Regions from separate parts of the Homo sapiens genome. Here regions 1 and 2 are each linked to region 3. Evidence: promoter capture Hi-C in human tissues and cell types (Jung and others, 2019). All regions are on one chromosome and are shown on one strand. Each heading gives the region's core, a stretch centred on a gene start or on the middle of the fragment in contact. The rest is flanking DNA. Distances are from core to core; before and after follow the strand shown. Region 1 has its middle 350 kb from the start of PSMD7-DT. Region 2 overlaps VAC14 (VAC14 component of PIKFYVE complex). Region 3 holds the start of TXNL4B (thioredoxin like 4B).

Region 1 (3,912 bases), core at 682-3,181, 1.8 Mb before region 3:
GAGAGCTGAGGCAGGAGAATCCCTTGAACCTGGGAGACGGAGGTTGCAATGAGCCGAGATCGTACCACTGCACTCTAGACAGGGTGACAGGGTGATACTCTGTCTCAAAAAAAAAAAAAAAAAAAAAAAAAAAATTAGCCTGGCATAGTGGTGTGCACCTGTAGTCCCAGCTACTTGGTAGGCTGTGGTGAGAGGATTGCCTGAGCCCGGGAGATTGAGGCTCAAAAAAAGTGTGTTTTAAGATTGAGAACAGGATTCTCAAAGCCATTCCTAGGGCAGTAGCATGTTTTGTTTTATTTTGTTTTGTTTTGTTTTGTTTGAGACGGAGTCTTGCTCTGTCCCCCAGGCTGGAGTGCAGTGGTGCGATCTTGGGTCACTGCAAGCTCTGCCTCCCGGGTTCACACCATTCTCCTGCCTCAGCCTCCAGTGTAGCTGGGACTACAGGTGCCTGCCACCACACCCGGCTATTTTTTTTTTTTTGTATTTTTAGTAGGGATGGGGTTTTACCATGTTAGCCAGGATGGTCTTGATCTCCTGACCTTGTGATCTGCCTGCCTGGGCCTCTCAAAGTGCTGGGATTACAGGTGTGAGCCACTGTGCCTGGCTGGCAGTAACATGTTTTAACAGATGACTGGATGCTTCTCTGAGTCACGGCAGTTCAGATTTACCCCAAATCAGGACCTGGAACATGGTGCCAATGGCCCAGAACTGGGAGTGAGTGGGAGGAAGAAAATAAACAAGGTGCAATTGTGTAATTGTGAACAAAGCCAAGAAACTATCTAGAATATAAGAGAGTTGGGAGGTTAGGGGATCTCAGTTCCAGGAAACTGGGGTATGAAGAGCTTCCCCAATGAACACATGGCGTGCAGGCTTCAGGGAGGTGCCTCATGCCCACCCCACACCGGCCCCAAACCCTTCCCATACATGTCTTCCAGTTTCTCTGATGTTACTGTCTTGGGGGCCTTAACATCTCTGCATGGCCTATTTGCATAGATTCCAGGCCTTTCATTTTTTTAACTTATTTTCAGATCCCAATTGCATCAGTTAGCATTTGCTGCATAAGAAACCCTCCCCAAACAACAATCATAAAGTTGCTCACAAATCTGTGGGTCAACAATTTTGGTGGGGTTCATCTAAGATGCTCACTTCTGGTATTGACTGTGATGACTCATTTTTCTGGGACCTCAGCTGTGACAGCTGTGATGCCCAGGTCTGTCTTTCATGTCATCTCTTGTGCATAAAGAAGCTAGCCTGGGCTTGTTGACATGATGTCAGAGATGTTCCAACAGCAGTAGAGAAGAAGCTGCAAAGTCCCTTAAGAACAAGGCTCAGAACTCACATCAGGTTACCTGTGTCAGATTGTATTGGTCAAAACAAGCTGTGAGGCCAGCCCATATTGAAGGGGTAAGGGAATTGTTGTCTCCTCTTACTGACAGGAGCTGCAATGAGTATGTGGCCATTTCCAGTTTATGACACCAATTCAAATATTACTTTATTGGGTATTGGGATGCCTAATGGCTCCCCTGCCAGGCTATGTCAAGTCCACCTATTTTATTTTCTTTATTATTGATTGATTGATTGATTGAGACAGAGTCTTGCTCTGTTGTCTGGGTGGGAGTGCAGTGGGGCGATCTTGGCTCACTGCAACCTCCACCCTCCTGGGTTCAAGCAATTTTCATGCCTCAACCTCCCAAGTAGCTGGGACTACAGGCGCCAGCCACGATGCCCAGCTAATTTTTGTATTTCCAGTAGAGACAGGGTTTCACCATGTTGTCCAGGCTGGTCTCGAGCTCCTGGCCTCAAGTGATCCTCCTCCCTCAGCCTCCCGAAGTGCTGGGATTACAGGCATAAGCCACTAGACCCAGCCTACATATTTTATTTTCCCCAAGTATTTTGTGAATGTTTGTTCCACTCTAACCTCTGTGTTTATCACGGTATCTTTGGCATTTAGCATAGTGCTTGTCACAGCGTAGTTAATGAATGTTCCTTCAGTGAATGAAGGATTGCTCTGAGGGCAAGTATATTAACGTTGACTACGTTAATAGGGAAGCCATTCTGGAGGAGGCTATAGAAATCAGACTTGGAAGCTGAAAGAAGACCCTTGTGCTGTGTTTGCTGAGATAAGTTATGTGTAAATTCATGAAGTCAGAACTGCAAGTTCTGGCAATGGATTGTAAACATGCCAATAATCTATTAGGCAGGTAGATAACACACACCAAAGAAGGACATTTTTTGGCAAGCTTAGATAAGGCAAATGCACAAGGTGAGATAACTTAAAAAGCCCTGGCTTTGTGACTTGAAGCTGGAATTACTATTCGTAAGTTTTGAGGAGAGGTGGGAGTGATGGGTACTTGTCTTGCTTGGAGAAAAGAGCGTGATCATTTTTCTATCTGAAAAATTTGACTATATGCATATTAAGCAGAATTCAGTAACTAGTAAAAAATTATGACTGTGAAAAGATGGATTAGAACATGTTTCATTTCGGCACTTATTCTTTCACAGAACATCTATTGAGCTCTTCCTGAATATGATATACAATACACTTCGCTAGATGCTTTGCAAGACATAAAGAAGGCATAAAAATTCCATGCATTATTAGGGTATAGTGGAACTCTAAGGTATATGCACACATGACCATCGTATGATATAGAAACTGATCTATGTTGGAATGAAGGCCATGTAAAATAACTTGAGAATGCAGAAGATGATCAGCAGAACTTAAGCAGATGGTCACCATCACCGTATGTCTTTTATTGCCTTTCGGATTTTTTTCTGAGACTGAAGACTGCCCTTCTATGTATTCTGCTCTGTGTGAAGACTATCTCCCTTTGGACACAAGGGTGGCTTTGGTTTATATAAGCCATCTCACAGTCTTAGGCAAAAGGAAGGGTGTTTCCTTTTGGCGTCCTGCTGTTCACACTCTTCAGTCCTGATCCCTTCTGGATCACCCTCCATCTGGGTCCACCTTCTGGGGCCATTGTTCATGATCCTACTCTTTATGCCCATTGCCTACCTATTAAAGCTTCACTTTCAATACCCCATTCCTCTAGGGACTGCTTCTACTAATTTATTTATTTATTTATTTATTTGTTTATTTTGAGACGGAGTCTCGCTCTGTCGCCCAGGCTGGAGTGCATTGGCACGATCTCCGCTCACTGCAACCTCCGCCTCCCGGGTTCAAGCCATTCTCCTGCTTCAGCCTCCTGAGTGTCTGGGATTACAGGCGCCTGCCACCACGCCCAGCTAATTTGTTGTATTTTTAGTAGAGAAGGGGTTTCAGTATGTTGGCCAGGCTGGTCTCCTGACCTTCTGATCCATGCACCTCAGCCTCCCAAAGTGCTGGGATTACAGGTGTGAGCCACCACTCCTGGCCATGCTTCTACTAATTAATCTGTTACAGTTGTATGAACCACGAATCTTCTGGAGATAACTTACTCTAAAGTTGTATGATGTGTAGGTATCACGTCAGGCTAACGGGTTGAGATTTTGTTATAGGTAACTTTCTTTACATTGATTGATTGATTGATTGTACAGGGTCTCACTCTGTCACCTGGGCTGGAGTGCAGTGGCGTGATCACAGCTCTCTACAGCCTCTTCCTCCTGGGCTCAAGTGATCCTCCCACCTCAGCCTCCCAAATAGCTGAGACAAACAGGCATGTGCCACCACACCTGGCTACTTTTAAAATTTTTTTGTGGAGATGGGGTCTTACTGTGTTGCCTAGTGTGGTCTTGAACTCCTGGGCTCAAGGGATCCTCCTGCCTCAGCCTCTCAAAATGTTGGGATTATAGACGTGAGTCACAGCAACCGTCCTCGTCACATCTTTCTATACTTCTTTGGTCTGGCTAATTAGGATGGAATTACAAGCATTGGAGGTGACAGAGAAGAAGTTAACATACATAGATTTTTACTAT
Region 2 (3,594 bases), core at 818-3,317, 1.4 Mb after region 3:
GGGAAGAAACTCCATCCTGGAAAGAACACCAAGGAAGTGCCTGCAGCCAGTCACACTTCTTGCTTCAAGAATCCACAGCCAAGGAGCAGTGGGGGCTGCGGAAGGAGAATCCACAACTCTCTGGGCCAGGAGCTCTTAACCTGAGACTCACGTGTGGGCCTCAAGGCTCCAAGCAGATCCATGTGTGTGCACATGCGCGTGTCCACAGCTGGCATCAGATTTTACAAATGGGGCCATGATTTTAAAAGGTCAGCTTAAACCAGTAAGAGAACAGCCAGGGGAGCCAGAGTGTGCCCTGCTTCCCCGCCCCCCCACCTCCGCTGCCCCGGGAGGGCACGTGCCAGGCACTGAGGATGTGTGGGGTGGTGCTGAGGTCAGAAGGCATGCAGGAAGTGCACATTCATCCCTCCGCAAGCTGCTCCTTCCCAGACTGCTTCTCAGGCATGCAAGGGGCTCTTTCTGTCTGTTTCCATCTGGCCATGCACATGGACAAGGCTGTGAAGCCATACCCTCTTCCTGTTTGGATTCTGCCTGCCTCTGGCTCTCCAGGGCGCAGCCCTGAGAACTTGGAGAACTTGGAGGCAGCAGTGCTGTGTCCCTGTAGGGGAGATTGCCCCGAAGGCACAAAGGGACTGTCTGGAAAGCCTCGGAGGCAGGGAGCCTAGCAAAGGTGAAGTCGGTGGCATCTGTAGGGAACCACATGGTGCGGATCACACGCAGCAGTGGAGAAGCGAGTCCATCACATGCCTGGGTAGCTGCCGTGTTGGCCTAATGCACCACAGCCATGGTTCCCAGGGCCCCCCGAGGCAGAGTCGCCCACATGGGATTTTCCTCTCGCCTGGCCTTGCATAAACATCTCTCCCTCCCTCGCAGAGCGGTGAAGGCAGAGGCTTCTCCCACCCTGCCTCCCTCATTCCTCACCTGTGCAGAGCCGCAGAATCGGGGAGAGAGTGGCCTGGGGGCAAACAGGATGGGGAGCAGCCTGGGCGGGCAGCTGTGAGGGAAGCTGGCTGAGGGACACCACACTTTCCTGTCTCCCACCCCTGGGATCTCCTGTGTCTCCTCCTTTTGTATTTCCTGTCTCCACTCAGGGGAGTCTGCGGAGGTCCTGCTGGCTCTGGGGACAGGGATGTCAGACAGGCCTGTGGGCCCGCCGTACCCTGAGCCTGTGCAAAAAACTTCAAAGGACAGAGGAGGCCTCTGGGATGAGCCCTTTGTCAGAGACATGCCTTTCCTCCCGGGGCCTGGACATCTATGCTGCCAGAGAGGGTGCAGCCAGGCCTGGGGAGACCCAATCAGCCTTTAGGATCCTTAGCCATGCACAGTAATGTGTCAGTCTGAGGCCAAAGGTCACCCTAGGACTGACGTTTGCCCCTAAAACCCAGTCTTCCCTGACTTTGCCTGCCACGGGGCCCAATGCTGCTGGGATAAAACTGTTCATGTCGTAAGCCACGTTGGCTCACTCCTATAGTCCCAGCACTTTGGGAGGCTGAGGCAGATGGATCACCTGAGGTCAGGAGTTTGAGACCAGCCTGGCCAGCATGGTGAAACCCTGTCTCTACTGAAAATACAAAATTTAGCTGGGCGTAGTGGTGCGTGCCTGTAATCCCAGCTACTCGGCAGGCTGAGGCAGGAGAATCGCTTGAACCCAGCAGGTGGAGGTTGCAGAGAGCCGAGATCACACCACTGCACACTAGCCTGGGCAACAGAGCGAGACTACATCTCAAAAAAAATAAAACAAAAAAACTGTTCATGTCAGTATACCTTGCGGGGCTCAGTGGTCCAAGGTGTTTTTATCCCTGGCTCTAAAAATGGGTGATAATGACCTGTTCTTATTTGGTTTCATTCCTTGTAGCCCAGGACAGTGTATTGTAGCCAAATGTCAGCAGCATCTTCATGTCACCAGACAGAAACAAGTTCTAGCAGAAAGCCAGAAAGCCATTTTCCCCAGTAATCACGGCAACAATCATCATGGCTGCCAGCACTGGCTGAGGTCACGTTAGGCCCTGCCCTGCTCTGAGCACTCACGCGTGCTGGCTTTTTGGGTGAGCCCCTGGGGTCCTCACAGCAGCTCTGAGAGGCCAGCACTGTGTCATTCCCCACTTGTTTGGGCCAGGAGCCTGGCCCGAGAGCCCACACTCCTCACCCCACTCAGGAATCCCACCTGCGCCAGCACTGGAAGCTTCCACAGCCAGAGGGGAGGAGGAGAGGGGCCAGGCCATGGGCACAACCTGGCAGTGATGGGGGCATCTCTCCTCTCTTCACAGTGACTTCAGAGACCCCTTCCTGGCCTCAGGCCACGGCAATGCCTCATTTCTTGTCATTTGCTGCCCGCCACCACTTCCTCCAGCCACACCAGCCCCAGGAAAGCACCTGTTTCTCTTGAAGCCCCTTCCTCCCACTCACCCCTCCCAGCCTCAGGAAGCAGCAGTAGGGATCACGAGCACTGGGGTCAGAGGGATCTAGATTCACAGCCCTGCTTTGCCCATCCATCCCGTGACCTCGGACAAGGGTCCTACCTCACTGCTACTTCTTCCCTCTCTATAAACCAGGTGCTGGGGTGCCTGGGGGCTCTGTGAGCTCCCACATGGCAAGGGCTAGGCTAAATGCTCCCTGCATGTGAAGGGGGCCTTTGCTTGTGTCCTAGTTATTACAGGCCGGTGCAGAGGGCCCCTGTGGGAGGCTTCCCTGGAGATCCCAGCTTCTCCTGCCCCTCTGTTCCAACACACTTGCTTATCTCAGGCTGCCTGGGTGGGTGGTGAAGTTCACATCTGTTCCCTCCTGGCTGTGACCTCTTAGACCCCCAGCTGGAAGTGCATGCGGAGGCTCCTCAGCGTCGCCCAGTGCTGGGTGATTTGTGTCATCAGCTCAGTTTGAATAGCGTCATGGCAGGCCACACAGGCCAAGTTTACTTACCCCGGAATCCCTGGCACCAGGTGCCCAGTAAGGGTCAGTACCTATTTTTGAAAGTTTATTAAAATAATGGAAGGCAGGGGCACCAATCACCTGAGCCTGAGGCCCCCGGCACTGCTGCCCAGAATGGCATCCTCTCATACCCGTGCTGCCAGGCCCTCCCTTGTCCAGTTGGAAGCCCCAGCAGTCCAGCCCCCCTGCTCCACCAGCAGGGGGTGCCTTCCTCCACACCCTCTCCTCGCTGCCTTTGGCCCCAGCCCTCACCCTGCAGCAATAGCTCTTTCCCGGTGGCAGACTGCTATATGACCTCTCCACTGCCGCGTCAGCTGGAAGTCCCCACTGGGCCCTGCTGCATCCCATCGGCTTCTCTCTCGCTCTGACCTGAGCAGCTGCAAAGTCTCCTGGCTATGATTGATGCCTCCGGCGCTCCTGTCCTGCCGACCCAGGCCGGCCCACAGATGAGAAAGTGATTGCCCCTTGAGTGGGTTCCCGAGTTGGTGCCATTGCGGCGGCCTTTGTCTACGTAGCTGTGCACCCCCTCCAGTTCTGCAGACTCTACACCCCCAAGACCCTGCTCAGCCTCCCTTTCTCCCAGCCACTTGATTCTTGGGGGAAACTGCCCCTTCCCCACCCTGTCCTCTTGGTTCCATACCAGCCTCTCCATCACCCACCCCTTCTGTG
Region 3 (3,812 bases), core at 230-2,729:
AGAATTGTTTACCAAACTCTAATTAAATGCACAGCTCTACAGAGTATTGCCAAACAGACTGGACACATAATATTAATGCAGAAACAAGAGTTACATTTTGAAAATGCCATCAGGCAGAACAGAAAAAAAGAAAGCTGCATATTGGTGACATCTGTGCGCATGTGAGGAAATCCACACAAGAAGGTAAAGATATACAGGCTCTACTCAATAGTTGTCTAAACTAGGAAAGGTACCCTGGACTGCCATTCTACGCAGTTGAGAGAACACTGGATGTGTTGTTGACTGCTGTAGCTCAATGTCTAGCAAAATAAGCGTTTGATAAATTAAAAAATGAATTAATTTAAACTTATTAAAGGAGGACAGGAACCCAAACATTTCTGGAGACAGCAAGGGAAGATTCCAGCAACACAGGACAAGGAGACAGCCAGAGAGAACTTCATTAGCTGCTGAGACGAACAAATAAGGAGCTAAAGAGCAAGATTCTTGAGAAGGATTAATGGCAAAGAAACTACAAGGCGTACGAGAAAGCCAGGGAAGAAAGAACCTGGATTCATTCATTCAACAATTATTCACTGAGGGTGTCCCTGAGCCAATTGCTGTTCTCGGCGATAGCAACAGAGAACAAGACAAAAATCCCCGCCCACCTGGAGCTGACATTCTAGTAGAAGAGATCGCCCACCAGATTGCCTGGTATAAATGACACTGTGAGAGAGCAGAGGAAGACACAAGGAGTCCTACTCGGGCTCGGTGACAGTCTGGGGTGGGTTAAAGCGGAGGCCTGGGAGAGGGACCAAGGCCACTCCAGGCAGCATCCCTGGATCTCAGCGAGGCCGCTCCAGGCAGCAGGATTTGACCAGAGCAAGGAGGAAGGCCAAGGCGGCCAGGACGGATGCAGCATCCCTGAGGTGAGTAAGGCAAGGTGGGTGACAGGGACGACAGAGGAACTCCCCAAACTGGGGCCCGGACCTGAGCAGGGGACCAATATCCGCCGCCTAGAGCCGCCATGATTACAGAAGGGCAGGCCAGGAAGGAAGAAGGGACTCTCACCTCACCAAGCGCGACTCTTGGGACCCTTCTGTCCCGGATTCTGGGGCGCCGGCGCTGCCACCCCTCGCTCAGACAGGCTCAAGGAGCCAAAATCCACACCTTGAAAGCGGCCATTATTGTCCCTTAATACTTTGCGCGCCCCCTCTATCCGCCCAAAGCTACCATAGAGAGCAGCCTGGAACACGCCCGATTCCTGGATCCAAGTGTGGAACGGTACGCCAACAGGCTCTCAAGGCCTCCTCTGGGGCTCTGATCAGACACTTCCGAGTCTCCTTGTGACCAATCACTCTTAGCCTAAGAGACTACATCCCGCCTCTAGTCTGGGGGCAGGAAAAGGAGGGGAAAAAGGTCGACCATCTTTAATACGGGCGGAGGTGACGCCTAGCTTCCGGTCAGAGCCGAGCAAGGTGGGCGGTGACTAGAAGCTCTTCCGTTTATTGGGCTGTTGAGCGGGGGCCGACCGACGGCCAGGAGTTTCTTTTCTGCGCTTGTGCGTTTTCTGTTCGGTTTCCTTCCCGCTAGCGGGGCCACGAGGGTTGCTAGGCAACAGCCCCTGGGTGACTTGGTCTTAGGGTCCTGTCCGGCTTGGGGCTGATGAAAGGAGCTGTCCGCGCCCGGGCTCTTCCGAGAAGTGGTTGCTGACAGCCACAAAGTGAAAGGGAGTGAGGCGGCGTGGACGAGTAAGGTAAGTGCTGGGGTCCCTTAGCGCTTGTGGGCCAGGAGCAGCGCAACACAGGTGACTTTAAATATGTATATCGGATATTTTGGAAAATGGAGATGCGCGCCCGGCTGTAAATAAAAATCACCCATGCGTTCACACGCAGAGATGACCACTGATTTCCAGTTGTTTTTCTGGAATACATTGTAGTAAGATTCTGTACAAAAGTGAGTTCAAGCTTTTTTTCTTTTTTTGGTGTTTCTGCAGTTGTGGCGCGCGCCTGAGGTTCCAGCTACTCGGGAGGCTGAGGCGGGAGGATTGCTTGAGCCTGGGGAGTTGAGACCAGCCTGGGCAACATAGCGAAACCCCGCCTCAGAAAAAGAGAGGGAGAGAGGAAAGCAGTGGAGTTATTGGTCAAAGAGTATGTCAGTTTTCTTTCCAGAAAGGTTTTGTGTCTGCATTCCAGCAGGAACTCCCTGTGCCTGCCCCTACCACTATCTTGTTTAATTTTTGCCAATTCAGTGACTTTGTAAACATATGTTTTAATTTGCTTTTCTTTGCTTACTGGTAAAGCTTAACTTTTTAGTTTATTTACTGTCCATTTGTACGTCTTCTTTTGGGAATTCTCTGTGGGTATCATTTACTATGGACATTTTCTTAGATGTGGTCTCAGTTTTCCTCTCCTGCTTCCAACGTTTGTCCAGTTGCACCCCTAGCCTCACCACTAACAACTTTGTTCTCCCCTTACTTTCTCCTTTCGATCAGTAACACGGAGGAACTGCTGTTTGTTTGAATTCTAGTGGGACAGATCCGTCTTCTCTTTGACCTTCCCTTTCATTGGTAATTTGTTCTGCTGCTCACATCTGATGACGTCCCTTTGGGCCATCAATGTCCCTGTTTAAAGTATGACCTATAGCTGGAACAATCTTATTTCCTATGTGAATTTTAGTTAAATAATTCCTTTTTTTTTTTTTGGAGACGGAGCTTCGCTCTTGTTGCCTTGCCCAGGCTGGAGTGCAGTGGAGCGATCCTAGCTCACTGCAACCTCCGCCTCCAGGGTTCAAGCAATTCTCCTGCCTCAGCCTCCTGAGTAGCTTGGATTACAGGTGGCATCTGCCACCACGCCCGGCTAATTTTTTGTATTTTTAGTAGAGACGGGGTTTCACCATGTTGGCCAGGCTGGTCTCGAATTCCTGGCCATAGGTGATCCACCCTCCTTGGCCTCCCAAAGTGCTGGGATTACAGGGGTGAGCCTGGCCTAATTCGTATCTTAAAATGTGACTTGTGACAAAAAAAATAGGAAAAGAAATCCTCCCTTTTCATATTTGGAACTGAATTCAAAATACCGACCATCTCAATGGAGTCTCTTATAGATGACCACAAAACTAAGCTTCTTTGTCAAAGAGTTTCTCAAAAATGAAATTTCTACCAATCATGAAAATAGATTATTGTAGTAGAAGGACCCCTGGACTAGAAATTTGGTGGCCTGTATTCTAGTCCTTGTCATTGTAGTAGAAAGTGCAACTGTAAGCAAGCTAGTTTGTAAAATGACGGGGTTGTATTAGGTCCCTTGTACCTCAGTATTTTATTATTTGTTTATGGTATTGTAGTTTTCACACACACTCTTAATTGATCTGTTTGCCGTGTAATGAGGTGCACCTAGTAAGGTGCACACGAAGAATCTTTAAGCCAGGACTTGTAATAATATAAAGTATACAATAAAGGACTGTTTAAAAAGTGTAACACATGCAAGAAATAATATGCTGCCATGACAGAGAATATGGATGTTCTCTATATAGAGATATGGGGCAATCTTCATAGGTTAGGTTTGAAATAATGAAAAGTGCTGAAGAGTAGATAAAGTGTGTGTGCTGAACATCTGCCATTGGTCCCTCCACAGCCATTCTTCATCCTCCTCTAGACTGCTCTGGGACAGGGAGGTTTGCCTGCCTCAACAGGCCCCTGCCCTCTGGTTCCAGTTGGAGTCAGCCGGTGGTTGCATGAGCAAAGGTCAGAGGGAGGGAGGAGAGTGGCTGCAACACCTAACAGCAGGCTGCCCTCCTATACACTGTCCTCTCCACTCACCTCTTTCTGCCACACAATTCTT

What was found. The method cuts DNA at HindIII sites, captures the fragments that hold promoters and counts their contacts. A contact is called where the count stands out against the background at its distance.
Region 1: a contact is called between a fragment that was not itself captured here and the fragment with the promoter of TXNL4B in region 3, in 1 of the 25 tissues and cell types used here (lymphoblastoid cells).
Region 2: a contact is called between a fragment that was not itself captured here and the fragment with the promoter of TXNL4B in region 3, in 1 of the 25 tissues and cell types used here (lymphoblastoid cells).

Annotation. Positions count from the first base shown.
Region 1 is chr16:73,862,392-73,866,303 of GRCh38, reverse strand. It overlaps a transcript of ZFHX3 not described here. Among named protein-coding and RNA genes, the nearest start is that of PSMD7-DT, 350 kb to the left of the region's middle. The HindIII fragment of the contact is 5,304 bases long and covers 1-3,912 here.
Region 2 is chr16:70,738,110-70,741,703 of GRCh38, reverse strand. All of the region lies in intron 13 of VAC14 (VAC14 component of PIKFYVE complex), which reads left to right. Among named protein-coding and RNA genes, the nearest start is that of VAC14-AS1, 15 kb to the left of the region's middle. RefSeq lists enhancers at 590-1,397, 3,150-3,319, 3,221-3,594. The HindIII fragment of the contact is 3,664 bases long and covers 236-3,594 here.
Region 3 is chr16:72,091,287-72,095,098 of GRCh38, reverse strand. It overlaps TXNL4B (thioredoxin like 4B), which reads left to right and starts at 1,479. Exons shown (of 4, transcript NM_017853.3): 1 at 1,479-1,732. It overlaps DHX38 (DEAH-box helicase 38), which reads right to left and starts at 1,252. Exons shown (of 27, transcript NM_014003.4): 1 at 1,048-1,252. RefSeq lists enhancers at 957-1,256, 1,317-1,366, 1,377-1,706. The HindIII fragment of the contact is 10,781 bases long and covers 1-2,111 here.